Regions from separate parts of the Homo sapiens genome. Here regions 1 and 3 are each linked to region 2. Evidence: promoter capture Hi-C in 16 types of primary human blood cells and fetal thymus (Javierre and others, 2016). All regions are on one chromosome and are shown on one strand. The core of a region is centred on a gene start or on the middle of the fragment in contact, and the rest is flanking DNA. Distances in the headings are between cores, read along the strand shown.

The links. Contacts are between HindIII fragments. The CHiCAGO score rates a contact against its expected background, and 5 or more counts as called.
Region 1: a fragment that was not itself captured here is called in contact with the fragment with the promoter of PROSER1 in region 2 in 1 of 17 cell types (total CD4 T cells); the score reaches 5.2 in total CD4 T cells.
Region 3: a fragment that was not itself captured here is called in contact with the fragment with the promoter of PROSER1 in region 2 in 1 of 17 cell types (naive CD8 T cells); the score reaches 5.6 in naive CD8 T cells.

The regions. Positions count from the first base shown.
Region 1 is chr13:44,922,010-44,926,632 of GRCh38, reverse strand. LOC107984619 (a long non-coding RNA gene) reads left to right here and starts at 1,653. Exons shown (of 2, transcript XR_001749860.1): 1 at 1,653-3,126. The HindIII fragment of the contact is 3,548 bases long and covers 1,273-4,623 here.
Region 2 is chr13:39,034,882-39,039,338 of GRCh38, reverse strand. PROSER1 (proline and serine rich 1) reads left to right here and starts at 1,250. Exons shown (of 13, transcript NM_025138.5): 1 at 1,250-2,141. The coding sequence starts at 2,097. NHLRC3 (NHL repeat containing 3) reads right to left here and starts at 883. Exons shown (of 7, transcript NM_001012754.4): 1 at 616-883; 2 at 51-203. The coding sequence starts at 699. RefSeq lists a silencer at 1,540-1,769 and an enhancer at 2,912-3,021. The HindIII fragment of the contact is 10,591 bases long and covers 1-4,457 here.
Region 3 is chr13:31,157,578-31,162,209 of GRCh38, reverse strand. HSPH1 (heat shock protein family H (Hsp110) member 1) reads left to right here and starts at 306. Exons shown (of 18, transcript NM_006644.4): 1 at 306-734; 2 at 3,347-3,404. The coding sequence starts at 628. RefSeq lists enhancers at 180-299, 430-509, 121-666, 667-1,212. The HindIII fragment of the contact is 798 bases long and covers 1,254-2,051 here.

The sequences.
Region 1 (4,623 bases), core at 1,797-4,296, 5.9 Mb before region 2:
CCTCCCAAAGTGCTGGGATTACAGGGCGTGAACCACCACGCCCAGCCTCTAATTTTTGTTCTTACTTTTAATTTAGGACCAACCAGAGAAAGCCAGATATGCCCCCACTAAAATCCCATAAGATGTTCCTCTTCTAGTTAGCCTGCTCCCATGCAGACAGCCTCCAATCAAGGCACACCTGAAACCTTCCCTGTTTCTCACTTTAAAGCTTTCCCGCTCCTCTGCCTGCCTTGGAGTCTCACCAAAACACAAGCGATGGTGGCTGGCTCCCTTGCTATGGCAAGTTCTGAATAAACCGCTTTTAACTTTTCTCATTTAGTTGTCTTTGTTTATTTCCATAGGAATATTGCTGCTGGTGGTTCGGATTCATCTGCTGCGTAGCTTCTCTCTTGCATTTCTGCTTCTACTTTGGCAAGCACTGTTCCTTGCTCAACGTTTTGTCCAGGGAAATAGGGGAAAAGATTAATAGCAATGCAGATGAGTGTTTGCAGGATCACTAGGAAATGCTGTTGATTAAACGTTTACTTGTAGGTAGAGTGGAAAGACCCTGACCTTTAAGAGAACAGGAAATGGAAGACAGTGCTGTTCTGATGTAGTCTGAATAGCCTTTTAATTTTAAAGGATTGCTAAAAGGAGATTCAGCTCCTCTTGCGCCAGTAATCAGCAGCTGACTTAACCTGTACTCAGTAGTACATCCGAGTCCCTTTATAAAATTATTATCCTCAGAAGAACTCCAAAGAAAGATATTATTGTTCAACAGTTTCTCATGGTAGGGAACTGTCTATCAACTGCTCGGAAATTAACTACATGTTCTAATGAATGGCCCCTCTCCAAATCTGCTTCCGAGTTATGCTCATTTACATCCCGCGTGCTAGGTTCTGTCCACCACCTAGAGTCCTACCTTCTTTTTGACATTTCTGTGACTGCCCTCACCAGAAGTGATCTTAATTCTCATGGAGAGAATTAAGAATTAATGCCTCTTAATTCTCATGGTGGTCATTATCACTCAGCATACCCTTGAATGCTGTCATCTGTGTTACTGTCCTTATTCATTCATTTGTTCAACAAATATTTATTGAATGTCTACTAAATTTCAAGTTTTGTTCCAGGCGGGGGATATAGTAGTGAACGAAACAGCAAAAATGTTTGTGCCACGGTAGAAAAGACAGACAACAAGCAAGATAAATGTAGCACACACACAGTATGTCAAATATCAGTATGTGCTAGTGAGAAAGTGAAAAGCAGGAAAACTGCAGGACATTTGCTGAAGCTTCAGATAGGGTAAACAGAGAAGATCTCATTGAGAAGATAATTTCTAAAGGACCTGGGGAAGGTGAGGGAGCAAGCCATGCAGGTGGCTGGAAAGCTCTTTCCTCCCCACACAAGTGCAAAGGCCTTGAGGTGAGGACATAGCTAGAGGATTAGAAGAATGGCAAGTGGAGCCTCGGTGCATGGGGAGGGAGGAGAATGAATGGGAGGGGGTGGTTGTCATGCAGGACCTTGTAGATTATAGTCAGGATTTTGGTTTTTATTCTGAGTGAGATGGAAAGCCACTGGAAGATTTTGAGAAGTGGCATGAGCTGATTTGTTTTAAGATTCCTTCTGCTTGCCTTGTTGAGAATAGGCTGCAGAGGTGGGGAGGTGGCGCACAGTCTAACCCAGGTGAGAGAGGATGGTGGCTCAGACCAGGGGAATGGGAGAAGTGATCCAATTCTGGGTCTATTTTCATGATGGAGCCAGTAGGATTTTCTGAGGGGTTGGAGGTAGGCTGAGAGAGAATGGAATCCAGGGTGATTCCAGGGTTCTGGCTTGGAACAATGGGGAGAATAAAGCTGCTATTAACTGGAATGGAGAAGATGCAGAGGGAGCTGGCTGGGGAGTGCGGTTGGGGATGGACTCTCAGGAGCTCAGCTTTAGCTATGTGAATCCTGAGGTCCTCATTAATTGCCCATGTGTAGATGCCAAGAAGGTTGCAGCTTTAGAGGGATAGGATGTTTTATGCCTCATGAATCTTCTAGCCTGGTTTGTTGATTGCATGAACCAATCAATTAACCAATCAGTGAACAATAGTGAAGCTCTATCTGAGTAGAGGTTGCAGGGGGAATTGATGAGATTTCTGTCTCTAGACTGGGTTGAGAGAGAGAAACATTAGTTTATTTTTGAACAGCCCCTATTTCTGAAAATGGATAGATGAGGAGGGAAGAAGGGACCAGGGACAGACATCTTCTCCGTTCCAATGTTAGCATCTATGAAGTCTTAGATCACAAAATGTTTATTTTTATTGGTTTAAGAAGATCCCATAACCTCTTCCTCATTCTCCTTTGAAGATGCCATCAGGCTTCAGAATGTATGCTGCCATTGTTGCTGAAGGCATTATCATTATGATTATTTATGACAGTGCCCTGTTTTATGCAATATGCTTATAATAGTAGGGGTAGATTTATTAAGGTATATGAAAATACATTAAGACTCCAGAGATGAAATGCCTGGGTTTGAATCCCGCATCTACTATTTATAAGTTGTCAGACTTTGGGCAAGTTACTTAACCTCCCTATGTTTCAGTTTTCTAATCTGTAAAATGGGAATAATATTGGTACCTATCTCATTGGGTCAGTGTGAGAATTAAATTGTTAATTATTGAAGTGTTTAGAATTATCTGGCACATAGTGAATCCTATATGTGATAGCTATTGTTTTTATATCAAGCACTGTCAAATATATATCGGGTAGTCATGATGAACATTAAACTTGGCATAATCCCTGGCCATGGACCTATTGAAGATTATTGAGATAGATCATCTCACGAGGAAAGAAGAAAATGAGTTTAGAAAGCTCACTCCACTCTGAACTACTGCTGAGAAGTCCAGAAATAAACCAGAAATACCTTTAACCTCCAATACAAGGTCCAACTTGATTTCTACCTAGCACCTCAGGAGCAAAGCAAATTAACTGAGGGTCTCGGCGGGCCATAATTTCAATATTTGAGCAACGGCAACATGGAACAAGAACCTACAATGGTGGGCAAGTTTTCCGGATGTCAGGCCATGAAGTGCTTGGACTCACAATTCCTAAGTGTGTTCTTGAAGAAAAACCAGGTCTGAGCCCTGGTAGGAGCACACAAATGAGGGTGAGTATGATGATGGGCTGGTGAAGCTCTTCCTGTCTTGGGCTATCAGATCAGGTGAAGGGAAGGTAGGGGAAGAAAGAGAGTGTGTGCCAGCGATATTAGGAGACAGGGATGTAGTTTCTTGTTCTTTGTTGTTGTTACTTAAATATTAAAATTATGGCCTTCTGAGACTCTCAATTAGTTTGCTTTGCCACTTCGGTGCTAGGTAGAAACCAAGACTATTTCTCTGAGATGGACTGATTCATTATTGGATGAATGAATGAAGCAAGCGATCAATCATGCAAACATGCACTGAGTGCTGATGATGTGTAAAGAAAGATGCTGTGGAGATATTTTCACCTAGCTGAGGAATAGTTCTCTCTTGTTATATGCTGATTTAAGGGGAAAAGTTACTTTTATAGGAGGATCCCCAAAGAAACCAAGATATTTTAAGAGACTCATTAAGTTGGTGCAGGAAGTCTTACATGAAAAAAATATATATATTAAAAAAAGATTAATTAAGTAATTATGCCCAGATGAAATGCCTGGATTTGAATCCTGCTTCTGTAACTTACTTAATCGCCTATGTTTCTGTTTTCTAATTTGTAAAATGGGAAGAATATTGGTACCTATCTCATTGGGCCATTGTGAGAATTAAATTGTTACTATATTAAAATGCTGATTCATTAAGTCATTATGTGTGCCAAGCACTGTGCTGGAAGCTGGGAATACAACAGAGTAAGACCCAGACTCTGCCATGAGGGAGCTTACTGTCTACCACAGGAAGGGAAACAGGGAACTCCATCCAACCTAATGATAATCCAGAATGAGCACCTCACCCAGCACTGAGCGTTCAAGGATGTTTGCCCTGAGTCACAGAACAAGTAGGAGTTGCTAGATTTGGCACAGAGGGGAGGGGCAGAATTCTATGATCTAAACAAGCCCTCGAGGAAGCTCTGTCATTCCAGTGGCCTCCTGAGATCAAACCCTATTTTAGAAACTGAACCTAGTGTTAGGCCATGAAGATTAATTCACACTGGTCAGCAGGGGCAGGTGCTGTTACTCAAGAGAGCTTTGAGGTTTAACCTTGTGCCATAGGCTGAGTTTGTGCTGGCCAGAGCTGTTCTTGGGAGAGTGGAATTTAATTGGTGCTTATTTGTGATGGCCTTATAAAGCATGACTCCTGGGCCTACTAAAGTGGAAACCATTCTAACTCCTAAATGACTGGCAAACACAAGCCTGAATCACACCCCAGATTGCTTTGGCTAATGGAGATGCCTGGCAAGTACAATGTGTTTGGGGCTTTTTTCCAGTATCAAATGGTGGATAAAATGGGACAGTTGCCCACTGAAAATCAGACCTAGATGCATGGGAACAGGAATAACTGTTTCTTGTGTCAACAAGAAGGCTTTTTTTTTGTGTGTGTGGAACTAAAGAAATGCAGCTCACTTACTGGTCTGGCCAAACTTCAAAAATTCATGTTTTTTTTTTTTTTTTCCTCCTCCCAGGAACATTTTG
Region 2 (4,457 bases), core at 1-2,500:
GCTGTTACTTCCTTTGTGTTCATAATTTTTTTAAATCTCTATTTACTTACTTGACCTATGTAAACCAATCCATTGAGGGAGTCAACTGCAACACAAAATGTTGTTCCGGTAAAATATTCTGGGTGCTTAGGCCAACCCACATCCAGCCGGTAAAGAATTTTCTCAGTTCTCCAGGAAACTGCAAAAGTAAAGTTCCTCAAAACCTTAAACAAAATCAGACAATTCAGATTTAGTTTACCGTCTAGGTAAGAACAAAAAAAGGGCGGGGGGGCCGGGTAACAGGGCTTATTTTTAAGCATGCCTTGACAACTAGAAGTTTGCTGGACTGAAATAATTCCAAAGAAATGAGCTTAGATGCCTAAAGACCAACACGACCACAATACAAGTCTGCAAATTATTTGAGGATGTAGTAAGAGTTGGGAAAGAGGAAAATGGCGATGTAACATACACAAATTTTTAAACTCAAAGGGTCAAGGCAGTTTGGACCCAGGTGCAGGCTTTGAGACAAGCTACTGAGGGAACCAGGGCCTGCCACCTCCATGCCACGACCGTGGCGACGCCTCCCAACAGGGCTACCCGCACACCCGACAGTCATTTCCTCACTACCCAACTCACTGGAGAGCCACAAAAACGCGAATGCAAAACCAAAAATGCAAGAAAGAAGCCAGCACCGGCTACGCAGACCCAGAATCTCGCCATGACCAGACGGGAAGCCAGGAGAGGGAGGGTCCGCAGGTGTCTGGGGGAGGACCTGACAGCCTCAGGCTGCAACGGTTTGCAGCGGCACAGAGGGTCTGCCCGGGGCCCGAAGACCCTATCTCCGGTTTCCCCTCCCTGGATGCACGAGCTTTGAGTACGAAAGGGAACAGAGACCAGGGCGAATGAAAATCACAGAAGACCAGTTCCGGACTTCGTGTGCATTTCGGGGTCCCCGCCCTCATGTCAGGTGCTTCGGGCTGACCCAGTGACCACCCTTTCCCGCCCTCAGGGCAGTCCGCGCCGCTGACTTTCAGTGGCCACCAAAGTATGGGCGCCCGTAGATATGCCTTAATCGCTCGCCATTTATTCTTTTTAATCCAGAGGGCAAAATCAAAACATCGCACACTCAGACACGAGGTATGGTGGGGATGACATTCAAAATAATGACCGCTAGGCTTCGGGAAGGATTTTTGCCACATCCTATTCCTACCATCCAGGCATCCGCTATGGATGCCTATATTCCCACACCAGGACCCCACCTCTGGCTTTCAGGAAAGAGGGGCCCAAGCTGGCGGCGCAGTGTTGAGTTTACTTGGGCGCGACTGGCTTTATTGTAGGTCCCCATGAGCTGGTGGGGGCTGTAGGGGTAACCAGGCAGGGCGTCTGGCGCTGTTGGGGCTGCGTTTTTCCGGAGTCCCCCTATGCGAGGCCGTGCCCCTCTTCGCCCGGCTCCTGGTGCTCCCCAGCCGCCGGCCCGCTCCCGGAAGCTGCAGCAGCTGGTAACAAAGAGCCTGCCGGGCCGCCTGCTGCCGGGGCCGAGGTATCCAGGAGTCGGGCGGAGCGGCTGGGGATGAGCGCGAGCCGGACCATGCGTCCGGGTTCGCGGCGGTGAGGGTCGCGGCCGGCGGCCGAGGCGCAGGTGCGGGTCGAGAGACCGGCGCCTCCCTCCCCGCCGCCCGTGGACTCTGAGCGCAGGTGTTTCTACTCTGCCGGCCGCTCCACCTGGGAAAGCGCCTTCAAGAGCTACCTCTGGCGGCACCTGGCCCTCAGCTGCAGGGAAACCGCACTCAAACCTGCCGCCGAGCCCGGGTTTTTCTGCAAAACTCAGAGGACCTGGCTCTTGCCCGAGGTGCCCTGAACCATTGTGTGAATAAGCTGGGGAAGCCTGACTGGAGTGTTTTTTCTTTTTAATAAAAAGAGTTTTTCTGAATCTCAATTTTTAGAAATTTTTTTTGCGAAGTTTGCAATACTCTCTACCTCTTCGCATCCTCTCTTGCTCGTGGAGTCTTTTTCCTCCTCAGCTATAAATATTTTTTACTATCGGCGGAGCAGACCAGGGATGAACGTCTTTTAATTGCAAGTATAACTGTTAAAACCACGTCGGGATAGTAGTCAAGATGGATAAAAAGTCCTTTGAAATGGTGCTGGATGAAATTAGAAAGGTAATTAGACCGATTCCATGAATTATTTTATGAGATGAATTCTCGTGTTTTAGACTCTCTTTGAGGTACTGTATGGAGATTGTGCAGAATAAGGGTCCTAGGATTGCCAAATTGGTTTGAATTTTCACGTGTAATGGAGGAGTTTATATCTTGATACGTTTCCAGTACAAATAGAAATTAAGTTACGTTAACGCCAAATTTGAGACTCAGCACGGTGTCGTGGGAATTACATTTGTAAAGCCCTCGGTTCCAAAGCCGGCTTTACAAATCCGTAATAGCTCTGTACTTTTTGGGTAAGGGGTTTAATATTTTTGAGTTTATTGCCTCATCTTTCAGTAACACAAGAGTGACTGAAAACGAGAGGTAATACGCAGAAAGTTTCTTTTATGGTAGTTATTATGATGGGGTTTTCAAATCTAAGCATAAGGTAGAGTATATTTGTTGCGTTGGCCATGCAAAATTCGTGTCCTGATGGTAAGTGTGGCATTAAGTTTAAAGTCACGTTCTTAGGAATTGGCCGTCAATAACTTGAGCTTCAAAACTTTTTTCTCCTGCTTTCCAAGTTTTTGCTGCTTTTTGAGGCTGTTGTGTGGATCGCATTTCCCAGAGTGAACCAGACAGCAACAATTCTGGAAGGTAGTCTTGAGCCTAACAATATCTCAAGCACAAAAATACCGAGAAGTTACTTATTTTAAAATGTAAGGACTTGATGTACCATTGTTACATCAACACACGGTGCTTTCCTTCGGCCTTCCGGGCAATTATTCTTTCGTCAGCTGCATACCTTTACGACCCTTGACTGAAACGGAAGAAATTGTTGCCATGTGCTCTGGTGCTTATTTCAGTTTACAAAGCTATTATTAAAATTGTCTCTGGTCTTGCTGTTTTGCTTTGTTTTTATACAGCTTTTTTCTTTTTTCAAATTGACGTGTTTAAGTTTTCATATTTGATAATACTGAACATTCTTTTTTGAACAAGTTCTGCTTTTGCAAACCTAAGTGTCCAATTAATTTTTGAAATAAAATATTGGTTTGCTAATTATATGCCTAGAAATTTGTCACAATTTGTTCTTGGGCTGATTTTTAATTACTTTTCATGAGAAAATAATTGGTGAGTCCAAGTAGACCAGCAGATTTTTACTTTTGGAAGATACAGGGTCTCAGTGTGCATATTCTCTTCCTGGTGTCATAAAAACGTCACAGTAAATTCTAAAGAGGGGAATAGGAAATTTTCCAGATATGAAAGTGTTGTTCACATGAGATGGCAACTTAAGTCTGTATTTCTGGTCAGCAGTTAAAATATATCTTCTGCTGGCTTTGCCGAGTGATTAGACACATCAACATTGTCATGGTCTATTAAAATGGAATAAAATATTGGCATATCTAAATATGAGCATTACTACTGATTTTCTTAAAAATCGTTCTTTGTAAATGTAAGTCAGTTTAAACCAGGTCATCTCTTGAGTATCACAGTGAGTTTATATGATAGATAATACTGATTGTCACTACTGTCATTTAAAACAGAGGCATATAAGAAGCCACTAGCAGAAGAACTGGGAAAGGGAGTAGAAAGGGGGAAAAAGCAATGGTTAACTGATTATTCAAAAAGGAGGGAATGATAGCTATTAATTAGTGAGCACTTACTTTGTGAGCCTGTTTTTAAGCACTTTCTCCAGTCATTATTTGTTTTGATTCTCCTTACAACGCATGAGGTGTAGGCACTGTACTTCTTGCTTATAGCTGGTGGCCTATTCTCTGTGAGGTTAACTATCAGCTCAAGACTCCCTAGGTGGTAAGTTGGGGGCTGGGGGCAGTATTCAAACTATGCTTGCAGAGCACCATGCTGTCCTGCCTGGGGTTACAGCTGGGCCTCTCAGGCATTGATGGAAGAATTGAGATATGACTTGGCATCAGTACAATCCAAGACTTTGTTCAGAAACTTGTATTTGACTGTGTCCGATTATTACATTGATAATAAAACTCCTAGGAATACATTATTTAGAATGCCATTTTCTCCCTTTTCAGTGAATATTGAACTACTGAGCACCCAGGATATTTCAGTTGACTGGTCATAATACTTTCTCCTAGCAGAATGATATATGTGAAAAATATGAATATTAAAATTATTTTATAGTACAAGCAAAGGGATTAGTTCATTTTTAATGATTAGTGGCTACTGACTTAAGATAGCTGTTTCCATCTCTAAGCTGAGCAAATAGCTGCAAGGGGAGCATGTGTGATTTAGTGGGCTCTAGATAGTGCTGCATCAAAGCCACCAACTTCTCTCTCACCCACTGATAGATTCCGAAAAGGAAAG
Region 3 (4,632 bases), core at 403-2,902, 7.9 Mb after region 2:
TTTGGAGTCATTCTTCGTTGCCTGTTTTATTAGGGCAGCAAAACGCCTGTGGCTAGGGCGGGAGTGGGCGGAGGCAGGTTTGAGCCAATGGCACGGGAGCGGCCCTGTCGCTGCCATGGCAACGGCGGCCGTTCTCCGGGGACCGGCTGCCCATTGGGTAGAATCTTTCCAGAAGGCTCGAGAAGAAGGAAGCGGAAGTGGCACGTGGAGGGGCCGGTGGAGGCGCCGGTGAGTAAATGCCGCAGATTCTGGAAAGTTCTGATCAGTGCGATACATAAGGCTGAGGAAGTGGGACCTCCCCTTTTGGGTCGGTAGTTCAGCGCCGGCGCCGGTGTGCGAGCCGCGGCAGAGTGAGGCAGGCAACCCGAGGTGCGGAGCGACCTGCGGAGGCTGAGCCCCGCTTTCTCCCAGGGTTTCTTATCAGCCAGCCGCCGCTGTCCCCGGGGGAGTAGGAGGCTCCTGACAGGCCGCGGCTGTCTGTGTGTCCTTCTGAGTGTCAGAGGAACGGCCAGACCCCGCGGGCCGGAGCAGAACGCGGCCAGGGCAGAAAGCGGCGGCAGGAGAAGCAGGCAGGGGGCCGGAGGACGCAGACCGAGACCCGAGGCGGAGGCGGACCGCGAGCCGGCCATGTCGGTGGTGGGGTTGGACGTGGGCTCGCAGAGCTGCTACATCGCGGTAGCCCGGGCCGGGGGCATCGAGACCATCGCCAATGAGTTCAGCGACCGGTGCACCCCGTAAGTGGGAGTCTGCGAGGGTGGATGGGAGGAGGTTCTGGGCCCTTAGTGTGGGGACCCAAGATCGCGGGCTGGCTGTACGGATCACCGCGGCAAACGGAGGCGTTTGGGCAGCGGCGCACCCCTCCGTGGAACTAGGGACCAGCGACCCGGCCAGAGGAGGGATGGGGGGCTTGCCATCACAAATTGGAGAAGGGATTGTCTCAGGGATTCACGGGGGTGAGAGGAGTCCCAGAGTCGAGACTCTAAGGGTCGTCACCTTGTGCGGGCTTCCTATTGGGGGTTTTCAAAACCTACTGGGGGTCGGGCTGCGGCAAAGCCCGCAACTTCGCTCCCTTTTCTTGGCAGGCTGCAGCCTGCGCCTTCCGCGGCCGCCCCCGTATCCCCACCCGGCCTCTCTGAGCTGGCTGAGCCGCCTCCAGCTTGTCCTCCTCCCTTCGCGCATATCTTTGCGCACCGCGGAGCGGGGCTGCCGGCCTTTTTCTTCCGCATTGTGAATCTCGAAATGAACTGGAAGCTTCCAGAGCTTGTGTCGCTGCTTGTCCAGTGAGCAGGCGGATTGTTGTTAGCGACCACGGAAGCAGTCCTATGAAAGATTAGCCCACCTCTTTTTACCCAGTCTCTTCGTTGCTAACATTGTTGGCCTTAATGCCCGGGATCATTGTCGAAAGATGTAAACGTCTTTTTTTTTGCTCTTTGCCATTCATGAGGAATTGTAAACCGTATTTTTAAAATTAATTTTGCACAGTTTATTTAAAAGAGAATAAAAATTGCATACTTTTGTGCTAGGACGCCAAAAGAGGATGGATGTCGTCACTGAACTAAATATTCTATAGGAGCATAGGGTGGGCAAAGGGCAACATTTTAAAAAGCAAGTTTCGTGAAGGGATATTTTCGGACGAGAATATATACAAACATATCTGCATGTGCATTGATGAAAACAAATGATTTCATCTCAAGGAAAATACTGTACCTATTAATTTTTTTCAAATGTCCCAAGCTCAGGATGAAAAGTGCAAAATGAAAACATTGAACCTAAAGGTAGAATGAATGACTGGGGTAATACAATTATTTGGGTGCTGAGAACGTTTATGAAAGTTGAGTGGAAAATCTGAGGCAAAATATTTGGCAATGTTAGTAACGTTAGGAAGACTGTTCTGAGCAACCTGTACGTCTACCCCTGCAGATCTAAGTTTGTGTTTTGGTTAAGGTTTTTTTAATTGGAGTTTAGTAAGAAAGAAAACAGTATTTCAGGCTTTCATGCCTAGATACAGTTTATACTTTGTTCTGGTTGATCCAATAAAACAAAGAAAAGCTTTTCAGAGAAGAGAGTGGGAAAAAAAATTGTGTTATACAGGGACTACTGTGTGAAATCAAAGACAACAGGTATGGCCCTGAAAAATGTGAACTGAGGGCAGTATTGGAGTTCCCCTTAATATGTTTGTTAAACTATAATTGTGGTGGATTCTATTGTATCAGCTACTAATTGTTATTTAGTACAATTAATTTGATTCTCCCCTAGGAAAATGAGTAGATCCATTCTGCAAGTGTATGGTTATTCAGAGCTTACAGTGATGCTCTGATTTTGACGGTTTCTTGTCTAGCTTCTGCTTGGACACTTCTCTGGCTTTTAGGATGCTATTTTATTTAACACTTGCTCAGATAATATAGTTTGAGGATGTTTCTATTATAGCAAATTTAAACTTAAGGGTGGTACTTAATGCCCTCAGTATTTTCCCGTTTTGCTCATCTCGTTTACCATTACTCATACCTAAGCAGGTAGGAGTAACTCACCCAAAATTAGATTATATTTGAATTAGTAATCCAGAATTAGATAACTCCTCTAATCCAAAACCTAATTCACTTACCTTCTTCTCACAAGACTTTTTAAGCTAGTCTCTGCTCTGTTATTGTGCGGTTCCATTTCCATGGTGGCTGAGAAGGTTGTTTCACAGTTGTAAGTCACTTTCCATCTCTTCAAAACAGATTTGATGTAACTGATTAGTCACTCCTTTCCCTCGACATTTATATTCTGTTTTGCCATGGTACTTGTTGTGCATCATTTTTTTCTTTCTCCGGCAGAATCTCCCAGATGGGAACCTCTTTGTGCTCTTTAAACTTCAGAGGTGTAACTTGGGTTCATTTGCTTGCGTTTGCATAAAAACTTTTGATTCCTAAAGAAGCCGGTGGTATATCAGAACAAAAGTCGGTATGACAATGACATTTAGATTTGTACAGAGTTGGTGACTGAAAGGTAGAGTCACATCCTATTTTTTGTTAGTCGTGTGTAGGGTCAAATTAATAATACCGTTAACATATTTAAAACATTTTCAAAGTTAATGTTCGGTTCATAATAACTGGAACCTGGAGAATTCCTGAGCCACGAGCAGAGGTTTTTGGGGTAGTAGAACTGCCACCTAGGTTGGATCTCAGAGCAGCAATTAAGTGGAAGCCCCCTTTGAGTATCTGATGAAAGCTATAGACCTTAAAATTGTGCTATGCTTGTTCCCTATCCCCTAATGGGTAGGACATTTATGTTAGTATTTTTCTCTTATCAGTTTAAAATATCAACCTTTATGCTTTTTAATTTTTTGGAATATATTTTTTTCTAGGTCAGTCATATCATTTGGATCAAAAAATAGAACAATCGGAGTTGCAGCCAAAAATCAGGTATGTTCTTTAAGAGAATTCGGATCACTTTTTAAGGGGGGAGTTTTTAAAAGGAAAATCTCAAGAGACATATAAGAGGGTAAAGTGTGCCTAAGTTTATGTATTTTTGAGTTTTAAAAATGTAATTCAAGTATTCTTTATGAACCTTCAGATGATGACACTCTTTCCTTTCTGTTCCCTTTCCCTTGTTTTATTAAGATCGACTTTAACTTTCTAATCTGCCATCCTTAACTTTTTTTTTTTTTTTTTTTTTTTTTGAGATAGAGTCTCGCTCTGTTACCCAGGCTAGAGTGCAGTGGCGCGATCTCGGCTCACTGCAACCTCCGCCTCCCGGGTTAAAGCGATTCTCCTGCCTCAGCCTCCTGAGTAGGTGGGATTACAGGCGCGTGTCACCACGCCCAGCTAGTTTTTGTATTTTTAGTGGAGATGGGGTTTCACCATGTTGGTCAGACTGATCTCGAACTCCTGAGCTCGTGATCCATCTGTCTCAGCCTCCCAAAGTGCTGGGATTACAGGTGTGAGCCTACGCCTGGCCTGCTGACTTTAACTTTTAGTAACTTTTTGCTGCCTTTCATTTATCTAATTTTTAGAAATTATAAACAAGGCATTTTAAGTTCTTGTGAAGTTTCTCGTGATACTCATTTAAGAGATTCCTTTTATAGAAGGAACTTCTAAGAAATTATGTGTTTAAAAGCATTTTCAGGTTACTTAGTAATTAAGGTAGGACTGGGAGAAATTTTTGTCCAGACCTGTGCTGTTTAAAAAATATGGTAGCCATGTACTGTATTGAGCATTTGAAATGTGGCTCGTCTGAATCAAAATGTGAAGTATAAAATACACATGAGATTTTTTACTTTTTAATCGAATTGAAAAGTAAAGTACGGTATCTGATCAATTTTTTTCTGTTGACTACTTATTGAAGTGATAGTTCCTAAAATATATTGGCCTAAGTTAATTGAAATTAATCTAATCTCTTACCAGTTTTTAACGTGGCTGCTACAAAATTTTATGTAGGTAGCTCTCCTTTATGACTTACATATAATTCTGTTGAACAGCACTGATCTAGACAGACCCCTTGGAGGTGGAGAGAAAAACAGTAAAAGATACGTGAAATGCTCTTTGAGAGGCTCTTTGAAATAAAAAACATTTTTCTAAATACAGAAAATAGATTGCTAAGAAAGAAAATTTTGGATTAGATTGAGTACTGTATTATATATTATGGAATGTA